2 separate regions of the Homo sapiens genome follow, and region 2 is linked to region 1. The links are contacts of gene promoters, found by promoter capture Hi-C in blood cells and fetal thymus (Javierre and others, 2016). All regions are on one chromosome and are shown on one strand. Each heading gives the region's core, a stretch centred on a gene start or on the middle of the fragment in contact. The rest is flanking DNA. Distances are from core to core; before and after follow the strand shown. Region 1 holds the start of FANCB (FA complementation group B). Region 2 holds the start of PRPS2 (phosphoribosyl pyrophosphate synthetase 2).

Region 1 (4,155 bases), core at 765-3,264:
TTGCCTAATTTCTGCCTGTATTCTGCTTCCTCCCTTGGGCATAAATAAATGACTATTGGGGTGTTACTAGCTCATTAGGTCGAATTCTGAGTTACTTCTTAAAATATTATAAACCATGTATTAACAGCTATAATAGTTACATTTCTGTAGAAAGCAATTGAAGAAGGATCTCTTTATTGGAACCAGCTATATTATTAGAAATGGGAACTCTGGGTGAAAAGTGAATCAAGTGCTTTTGCAACTCTCTGGAACAAAGTTTGGGGTGTGAAGAAAATTGGCAAGGAGGTATGAAAAGATTTACTGACAAGTATTTGAAACCGATTTCCATATTTGTTCTATGTCATCAACTGATGTATAATCTAGGATGGTTTAAAGTTGCAGGGAACCTCTGCTGAGTACTAGTCAAGATGTAGAAGCTTAACTCCTTTCACAGTAACCAAAATGACAACTGAGGCAAAATATTCACTGAGAATCCACTATATTTTAAGACATGCTAGATGGTTTATGTTTTTTTAAAAAATTTAATCCTACTAACTTTATTATTTGCACTTCACAGATATGAAAACGGGCTCAGAATAGACAAGTAAGCTATGTAGTGGCAGGGTTAGGATTACAATCAATCTTAAGGTAGGCAACATATAAATCCTTATTTAATTCCATATTTACAATAAGTTATTCCGTATGTTTTACAAAATTACTGTACAAGCATTAAATATTCAGTTAAGTACCTGACAACTCAAGTATCTGTGACATCTGGACACAGAATGTTCAACCAATAAATCAATTCTGGACTCATAGGTACTTTGCAAGATACAGTTTGGGATAAGAACTTGTTCCAGCATTGGAGGGCCTATTTTGTGGGTAGCATGCTGGGTTGTATGAAAGCCAAATCAAACAAAATATCCAAGGAATTTGTATACCCAATTAAGTACACATCAATAGTATTATGGCAGTTTCCAGGTACATTTTCGCTAGTGTTGCTGGTGAAAGGCCAGCAGTGGAACCGTGGACTGGACAATGTCACCCGTGTTGTGGGCCTAACAAGTATCCTGCAAGTTCCATAAACACGAGGGCATGCTAAAAACTTAACCGATTTCCAACTTACATTAACCCTTTAAAGGGAGCATGGGACACACCACTTGACCATTTGAAGCAGTGCACACGGCTTGTCATGGAGAGGAAAACCTTTGAGACGTGCCCAGCATCATTCCTGTGAGGGTCGAAAGGGTCCCTAACACCTCCCACAAATACACTCACAAACACTCCAGCAAAGTTGGGGATGCTCACTGCACACCTTTCTTAATACCTGGAACAGAGTACCCACCTGTCACATACTCAGCTTCGAACCTCCTCCGGGTCTCAGAGATGAGCTTGGCTTTATTCTGGGCGTGATTCTGGATGGGAGACACGATGGGACCTTAGATACTACTTGCATCAACCCGCTTACCCTCAACCCAGCCCACCTGCACACGGGCGCTCGGTCCCCGGGCCTCAGAGGCGGCTTCCGGGTCCGGGGGGCCAGCGGCGGTGCAATAGGCTCCTCACCTCTGCCATGATCACCGTCGTGGATGTGATTGCGGTTGTCGCCGTCGCCCGTTCTACCGTCGCCGACCGAGTATCTCATCACCCGGCAGTCCCGCCCAGAGGTAGACAGAGAAGGGTGGGAGGGGGAGGCGGTCGCGTGACACCGGAAGGCGGACAGAAGCGCCGCCGCACCGCCCAATCCAATGCGGACGCCTGGGTCTGGAGGCGGGACCAGGCCCTCAGCCTAGGTCCCATTCGATTCTCGTCTGGCCTCGCCCCGCGACATCCCCCGCACTGCGGTCCCGCCCCCGCCAGCCGCGAGATCGCCGGCGCTTCCCCCGCGGAGCTCCGCCCTAGAGAGCTCGCGGGCTCTCTGCTTTCACAACACTCCCCAGGGCCCCGCCTCCTCAGCCTCCCTTGGCCACCTCTCCTGGCTGGCTTCTAGGCTCCGCCTCCTCTGCGTTCGACGCAGCCTCCGCCCGGCCTCCCAGGATGCAGCGCGCTGGCGGGAGGTTTGGAGCAGATGGATACCGTATCGACGTGGGGCCTCCGGTATGTTGCCGCTGCGTTGAGGTAGGATGGGGCTGGCGAGTCTTCCCTTCCCAGGACTTCGCAGAGGGGGCGATGGGGCTGGATTTCCTCCCCTTGTCCCCGCATTGCGGGAGAGAGGGAAGGAAGCGGGCATCCCGAGACCTGGGTCTGTCATTCCTTGCAATGATAATTGGATTTTAAGTGCTACATTCGCTTGAAGTTTTTTTCATCCCTTCAGTATCCTTCCAACTTGGAGTGTGAGATGCTTAATGAGCAAAATATCTCTGAAATCTTTAATCTCAAATAATTATATAAAGTTAAAAAAAGCGTGTTTCGGCTTATTAAGGTAGTTGTGTTCAGCCGGGGGGGTGGGGGGGTGTGTGTGGGGGGGGCGGTTTTACCACCCAGGGGACCTTTGGCAACCTCTGGAGACATTTTTAGTCACCACTGCTAGGGGCCGGGGGCAAAAGAGATGCTCACTGGCTACTAGTGGATAGAGACCAGGGAAGCTGCCAAACATCCTCCAGTGTACATGAAAATTCACAACAGTTATCCAGCCCAAAATGTCAATAGTGTCAAGGTTGAGAAAGATTTAGATTTAAAGGGACTGGAACAAATTTTATTCGTCAGTTAAAAACAATTGAAAGAAAATAGTTGCGCATACAATATTGCCTTTTTTAAAGTTGAAAGATACTGAAAACTACAAACAAGTTGTAAGAATAGTCCCCCATATTTCCATCAACCGTAGTCATCCATGACAGAATGGCATGTTAGCATCTTTTGTCCTAGACTTTTAAATATATTTACATTTTTTATGGGAAAAAATGAACACATTGTTTAAACGTTGTTTGACTACATCCTTAAAAGATATTTCAGATATAACTAAAGTCTCCTTCTACCTCTACTCACCTATCCTGGACACTTCCTTGTCCAGAATCAACAGCATTCAGAATTTGGCATGAAATGTTTACAGTTTTACATTTTTTTATTTTGGATCATACTGCCTGGGTTTGAATCCTGGCTCTGTCACTTCTTATCTGCAAGCCTTTGAGAAGATCCTGAAACTCCTTGCCTCAGTTTCTCCATCTATAAAATGGGATAGTAACAGTGCCTATGTCATAAGGATGTTGTGAGGAAGAAACGAGTTAATCCAAAGTGCTTAGAGCAGTACCTGGCACTGTTTCTTCAGGAAAAAAAAAAAAAATAGTACATGGCACTATTTCTTGAGAAAGCACTCAGGGACTGTAGTCATTGTAGGTAAATAGAACATATATAATGCTGTTTTATTTGTTTTACATAAATAATATGCTGCAGTGTACATTTGTCTGCAACTTAATTTTTAATTCATTTTATTTTTGAAATTTAACCATGATTATATATATATATACACACACACACACACACATATATAGATAGATAGATCTAATTCATTCCTTTTAACTCTTGTTTGATAGTCCATCTATACTCATTCCCCTATTGGTGTTCATTGAGGTTTTTACTTTTTTTATATTGCAAATATCAGCACAGTGAGCTTCTAGAGCAATGTATTCATTCATATGTGGGATTATGTCTCTGGGTTTATATCTACAAATGAAACTACTGGGTATATGCATTTCAGTTGACTGCCAAATTACCTTCAGAGTCATCTCTCCCTTTTATTTAAGTACTCATAATTTTCTTCTAATTGTTAGCTCTTTTTCCAGTCTGATCTCACTCACACCTTTAACACTGTCACCAGGATCTTCATAACTCAAAAGTACAGTCCTGTGATTTCTGTTTTTGAAGTCTTTCAGTGGGTTATCATTACTTATATGAGAAATTTATAAGTCCTTAATATGACATAAAAATCTTCTTTAGCGTAATCTTCCCAAATCCTCTAATTTAGTTGATCACGATTCTCCCGCATTTACTCACATTTCAGGCATATTAGATAATGTTGAAAAAGGTGAGATCAATTCTGTATAGGACCCAATAAATAACTTATGTAGGGAGAAAAAAACTTTTAACAGTGGCCCTATTTTGTAGGAAAGTTAATTTACTTTGGTTAACAATGTCATATGTCTTGGAAAAACAACATCTATCATTATTATCTTCATAAAA
Region 2 (4,155 bases), core at 1,026-3,525, 2.1 Mb after region 1:
GCCAGTCTCTGGTATTCTGTTATAGCAGCACAAAATGAACTACAGCAGAAATCAAGTACAGTATTATATAGCTGAGAGGTTGACAAAACACAGCACATAGGCTGTTTTTCTATGGCCTGTGAGTTAAGAATGGCGTGGTAGGCAGAATAATGGCCCCCTAAAGATGTCTACATCCTAATCCTTTGAATATGTGAGTTTATATGGCAAAGGGGAAGTAAATTTGCAGATAGCATTCAGGTTGCTCATCAGCTGACCTTAACATGGGGAAATTATCCTGGATTATTTAAATTGGCCCATTGTAATCATGGGGCCCTTAAAAATGCAAGAGGGAGACAGCAGAAGCAGGGTCAGAGCAACATTTTGTTGCTGACATTGAAGGTGAAGAGGCCAATAGTGAAGGAATGTGGGCTGCCTCTGGAAACCGGAAAAGGCACGGGAACAGATTCTCCCCTAGAGCCTCAGAAGAGAATACAGCCCTGCTAACCTGTGACAGACATTACCGTAACTTACAGAACTGTAAGATACCGCAGCAACAGAGACTACATGTGCTAGCACTGCCTAAAATATTTACGATTTGGCCCTTTGCAGAAAAACTTTGCCAACTCCTGGTCTTATGACGTTTATCCCACAAGATTAGATTCTTTGGCCTGTTTTTACTCAGGAACCTCAGTTCTCATATGACTAGCAGTCCAGGGGAGGACAGAGAATATCATCACCATGGCAACTTTTCCCCTAAAGCTAGTCCTGCTTCTACTCAAAAAGATGATCATGACTACCTTTATTCTAGGTCTTTAAAAAATTGTGGCTAGAAGGCAGCATCCATTTGCCATTCTGCCAGAGGATCTTTATTGACCCCCAAATAAAAACGCTGAAGAGCGTCACTGACTCAACAATAAACGGGCATGGTAACTAAAAGATAGCCACAGACTCTTAACACATTTCCCATCAAGGAGCAGGGTCTAGTCTCCCGCCCTTGAATCTGAGAGGGCTCTGTACTTGCCCAACAGCATATGACAGAAATTATGATACACCAACTTGCAAGCCCAGTCCTTAATGGACTGGTGGCTTCAATGTCCTGTCTTTTGGAACATGTGCTCTTAGAACCCAGCTTCCATGCTGTAAGGAAGCTCAAGCAGCCCCATGGAGAGGCCTACAAGAAGAGGAGCTGAGGTTCCTAACCAAGCTCCCAGGCAAAAGCTAGTAACAACTTCAGTCATGTGAGCCATCTTCAAGAACCCTCCAGCCCCAGTTAGCCGCCTCAGCTGTGACCAGCCTCAGCTGTGACCATACGCGGCAAAAACAAGCTTTCTTCACTGAGCCCTTCCCAAATTGCAGATTTGTAAGCCAAATCAACAATTACTGTTTTAAGCCATTAAGCTCTTTATTTATTACATGGTAACCGATAACCTTGTATAACTTTGCATAACCTTGTCTCACAGTATAGCTAAAGATTCTGCCAGCAGGTTAACTGACCATAGTAAAATGTTACAACAGAGACATCTAGACACCTGCTGTCCTAAGATGTCATCATGGAATTTCCATGGTCTATAGTGAAGCTGGAGCGGACCTCTCCCTGCATATCTGAAATGATTTAGGGATAAGAAGGTAAAATTGGAAGGCTCTATGTTCAGTAAAGTAGCATATAAAAAACGCAAAATGGGAGGATTGATGGCCAGGAGACAGCAAACCAGATTTCTGATCCTAGTTCAGTGACAGATTCAAGAAGGGGCCCTTACATGAACTGAATCAATTTTGTCTTCATTTTGCCCTTCAGTTTTTCCTCTCTACGATTACACAGCTAAAAGCTGGATTCCTAGCACAGTAACTGGTCCAGAGAGGGCTGTTTATAAAAATTAAGCTCTGTACTTGTACAGTTCATGGAAAAGAGAAAAGTCAGGCAGTGAACCTTTTATACTCTATACATTAAAAACATAAAATGTAGCTATATAGGCAATTCCCAAACTTCATGCTGAGTGGTTTTTGAGGTCCCACGATTTCTAATTATCAAGTGATGGTTATAAAATGCCAAAAACAAAATAAAAGTGAGTCTGCTTTATATTTGAACCAAATGTATAAACAATCATACTTCAGTGTCTGAGTGAGTTTTGCCCAGTGGCACATGTGGTATTTTTAGGAGAAACTCAACACTGACTTAGCAGTGAACTGATCTAGATTAACCATGCTCCTTAGCAAAAGATCATGCTGCACTGAGTACCTGGAAGGGCAACATATTTGCTTTCAAAATTTACTTCATCAACAAATTTCTCCTTTACTTATATGACGACACCTTCTGAACAAAAACTATTCTTCTTCTCGTGTTCTTACAGCGACTGAAACTTGAACAAGACTGGCAAAATACTGCAACACTCAAACCTAGCTCTATCCTTCTCCAGAGCCCTAGACCATCCTCTCAGACTTCTGCATTAAACACTGCAGAGTGGAATTCTTTAGCCAAAGTCCACCTGCCACTCATTCACAATGTTTCTTCGCTTATATTATCATCGGAGCCATAACTGGAATTTGCCACCTGGAAGAAGTCACGTAAGATTCACATATCCTAAAAAGCTGACTTGCCAAAATATAGCATCTTCCCCATCAGTATTAACATAACTCCTCCTTAAGAAATTTTTGCCTAACCCCAAGTCAAGATTTTCTGCTAGAAATTTTATAGTTCTAGATTTTACAATTAGGTCTATGATCCACTTCAAAGTTAATTTTTACAAATGGTGAAAAGTATGGATGGAAGTTCATATTTTTTGGCATATGGGTGTCCAACTGTTCCAACACCATTTCTAGAAAATGTTGGTAAAATTGAACCTTTGCCAAAGATATAAAAATTATCAGTAACTGTGGACAGTTAACGGTACTAGACATTGGAGGAAGAAGGGGGAAAAATGAGACCAATTTGAAATGAGTCAAGGAGCTGTGTGGACTCAGGCAGATAGACAAAGGAGCCCCCCAGGTCAGCTTCCGAGGATGGCCACCACCTGAGGCTCTCCTGGACTTGAGAAATGGGTGAAAGTTACAGTCGAATCACGGCGTTGTTGCTGGACACAGCAGAGTCCTAGAACAAGAAGGAAGCTGAAAGTCCATCATCTTTAAAGCAGCAAGAGTAGTGGGAGCAGAGGGGAGCCCAGCACGTGCGTCCTGGGGTTCTCACAGTCTTTCAAACCTTGGCACAACTGCACCCTCTGGATAACGCAGTGGTCTGCGCCCTGGCTGCTCAGGAGAAGCCAGGGAAGCTTGTAAAATCGCTGATCCTCCGCCCGTTGGATCAAACCCTTGGGGGCAGGTCGGGGGAAGCAGCGTTCGGACCGTCCCCAGGTAAACCCAGCGTGCAACCAGAGTTGGGGACGGGGGGAAACCTTTAGTCGCACGCACTGGTCTGAGGTTCAGCTTTGTAGGGACGCGGAAACTGGGACCAGCCAACCCAGGACGTCTCTCCACCGCGCGCTGACCCGATGCGGTTCCCGCCCGCTGCGCCCACTCTCTCCCCGACGGTCTGTGACCGCCCAGACGTCTCCCTTCCGGGCTGGGGACGCCAGGCCGGGCGGCACCGCTGGGAGGCCGGGAGCGGCTCGGGACCGCCGGGTCGCCGCGGTCCCAGGACCGGAGGCCCTGCAACCGGGGGCACAGCCGAGGCGCGCATCGGGACGCGCGGCGCCCCGCCTCGGTTTCTTCGCAGGCGCGGGCGCGGGGGCGCGGAGGCCGCGTTGCCACCGTCCCGCCCCGGAAGGGGGAGCGCGGCGTCCGCGGAGGTGGCCCGGGCAGGCGCCGGCCCCCAACCCGGCCCCGCAGCCGCGTGCCCAGCGCTCTCCCTAGCCCGGCCGCCGGCGCGGCCCCCACCTGGTCTCCTGGTTGCTGAACTTCTTCGTGACCACCTTGCCCAGCTCCAGGCCCAGGCGGTCGGCCACGCGCTGGGACAGGTCCTGATGCGAGCTGCCGCTGAACAGCACGATGTTGGGCATGGTGGGGCGCGGAACTCCGAGGGGCGCGCGGCGGCGGAGGAGGTGGCGGAGGCAACAGCGACAGCGACGCGGGAGGCTGCTGCTGCGGGAGCGGGAAAGCGCGGCGGCTAGATGTAGGGAAGGGGAGGAGCGGAGGGGGAGGAGCCGGAGGAGGAGCTAGAGGGGGCAGAGAGGGAGGAAGAGCGGG

The links. The method cuts DNA at HindIII sites, captures the fragments that hold promoters and counts their contacts. A CHiCAGO score of 5 or more calls a contact.
Region 2: a contact is called between a fragment that was not itself captured here and the fragment with the promoter of FANCB in region 1, in 1 of 17 cell types (non-activated CD4 T cells). The highest score is 11.7, in non-activated CD4 T cells.

Annotation. Positions count from the first base shown.
Region 1 is chrX:14,870,928-14,875,082 of GRCh38, reverse strand. FANCB (FA complementation group B) reads left to right here and starts at 2,014. Exons shown (of 10, transcript NM_001018113.3): 1 at 2,014-2,097. MOSPD2 (motile sperm domain containing 2) reads right to left here and starts at 1,662. Exons shown (of 15, transcript NM_152581.4): 1 at 1,546-1,662; 2 at 1,325-1,394. The coding sequence starts at 1,554. RefSeq lists a silencer at 1,695-1,924. The HindIII fragment of the contact is 4,870 bases long and covers 419-4,155 here.
Region 2 is chrX:12,791,311-12,795,465 of GRCh38, reverse strand. It overlaps PRPS2 (phosphoribosyl pyrophosphate synthetase 2), which reads right to left and starts at 4,054. Exons shown (of 7, transcript NM_002765.5): 1 at 3,847-4,054. The coding sequence starts at 3,968. RefSeq lists a silencer at 3,349-3,798. The HindIII fragment of the contact is 1,938 bases long and covers 1,307-3,244 here.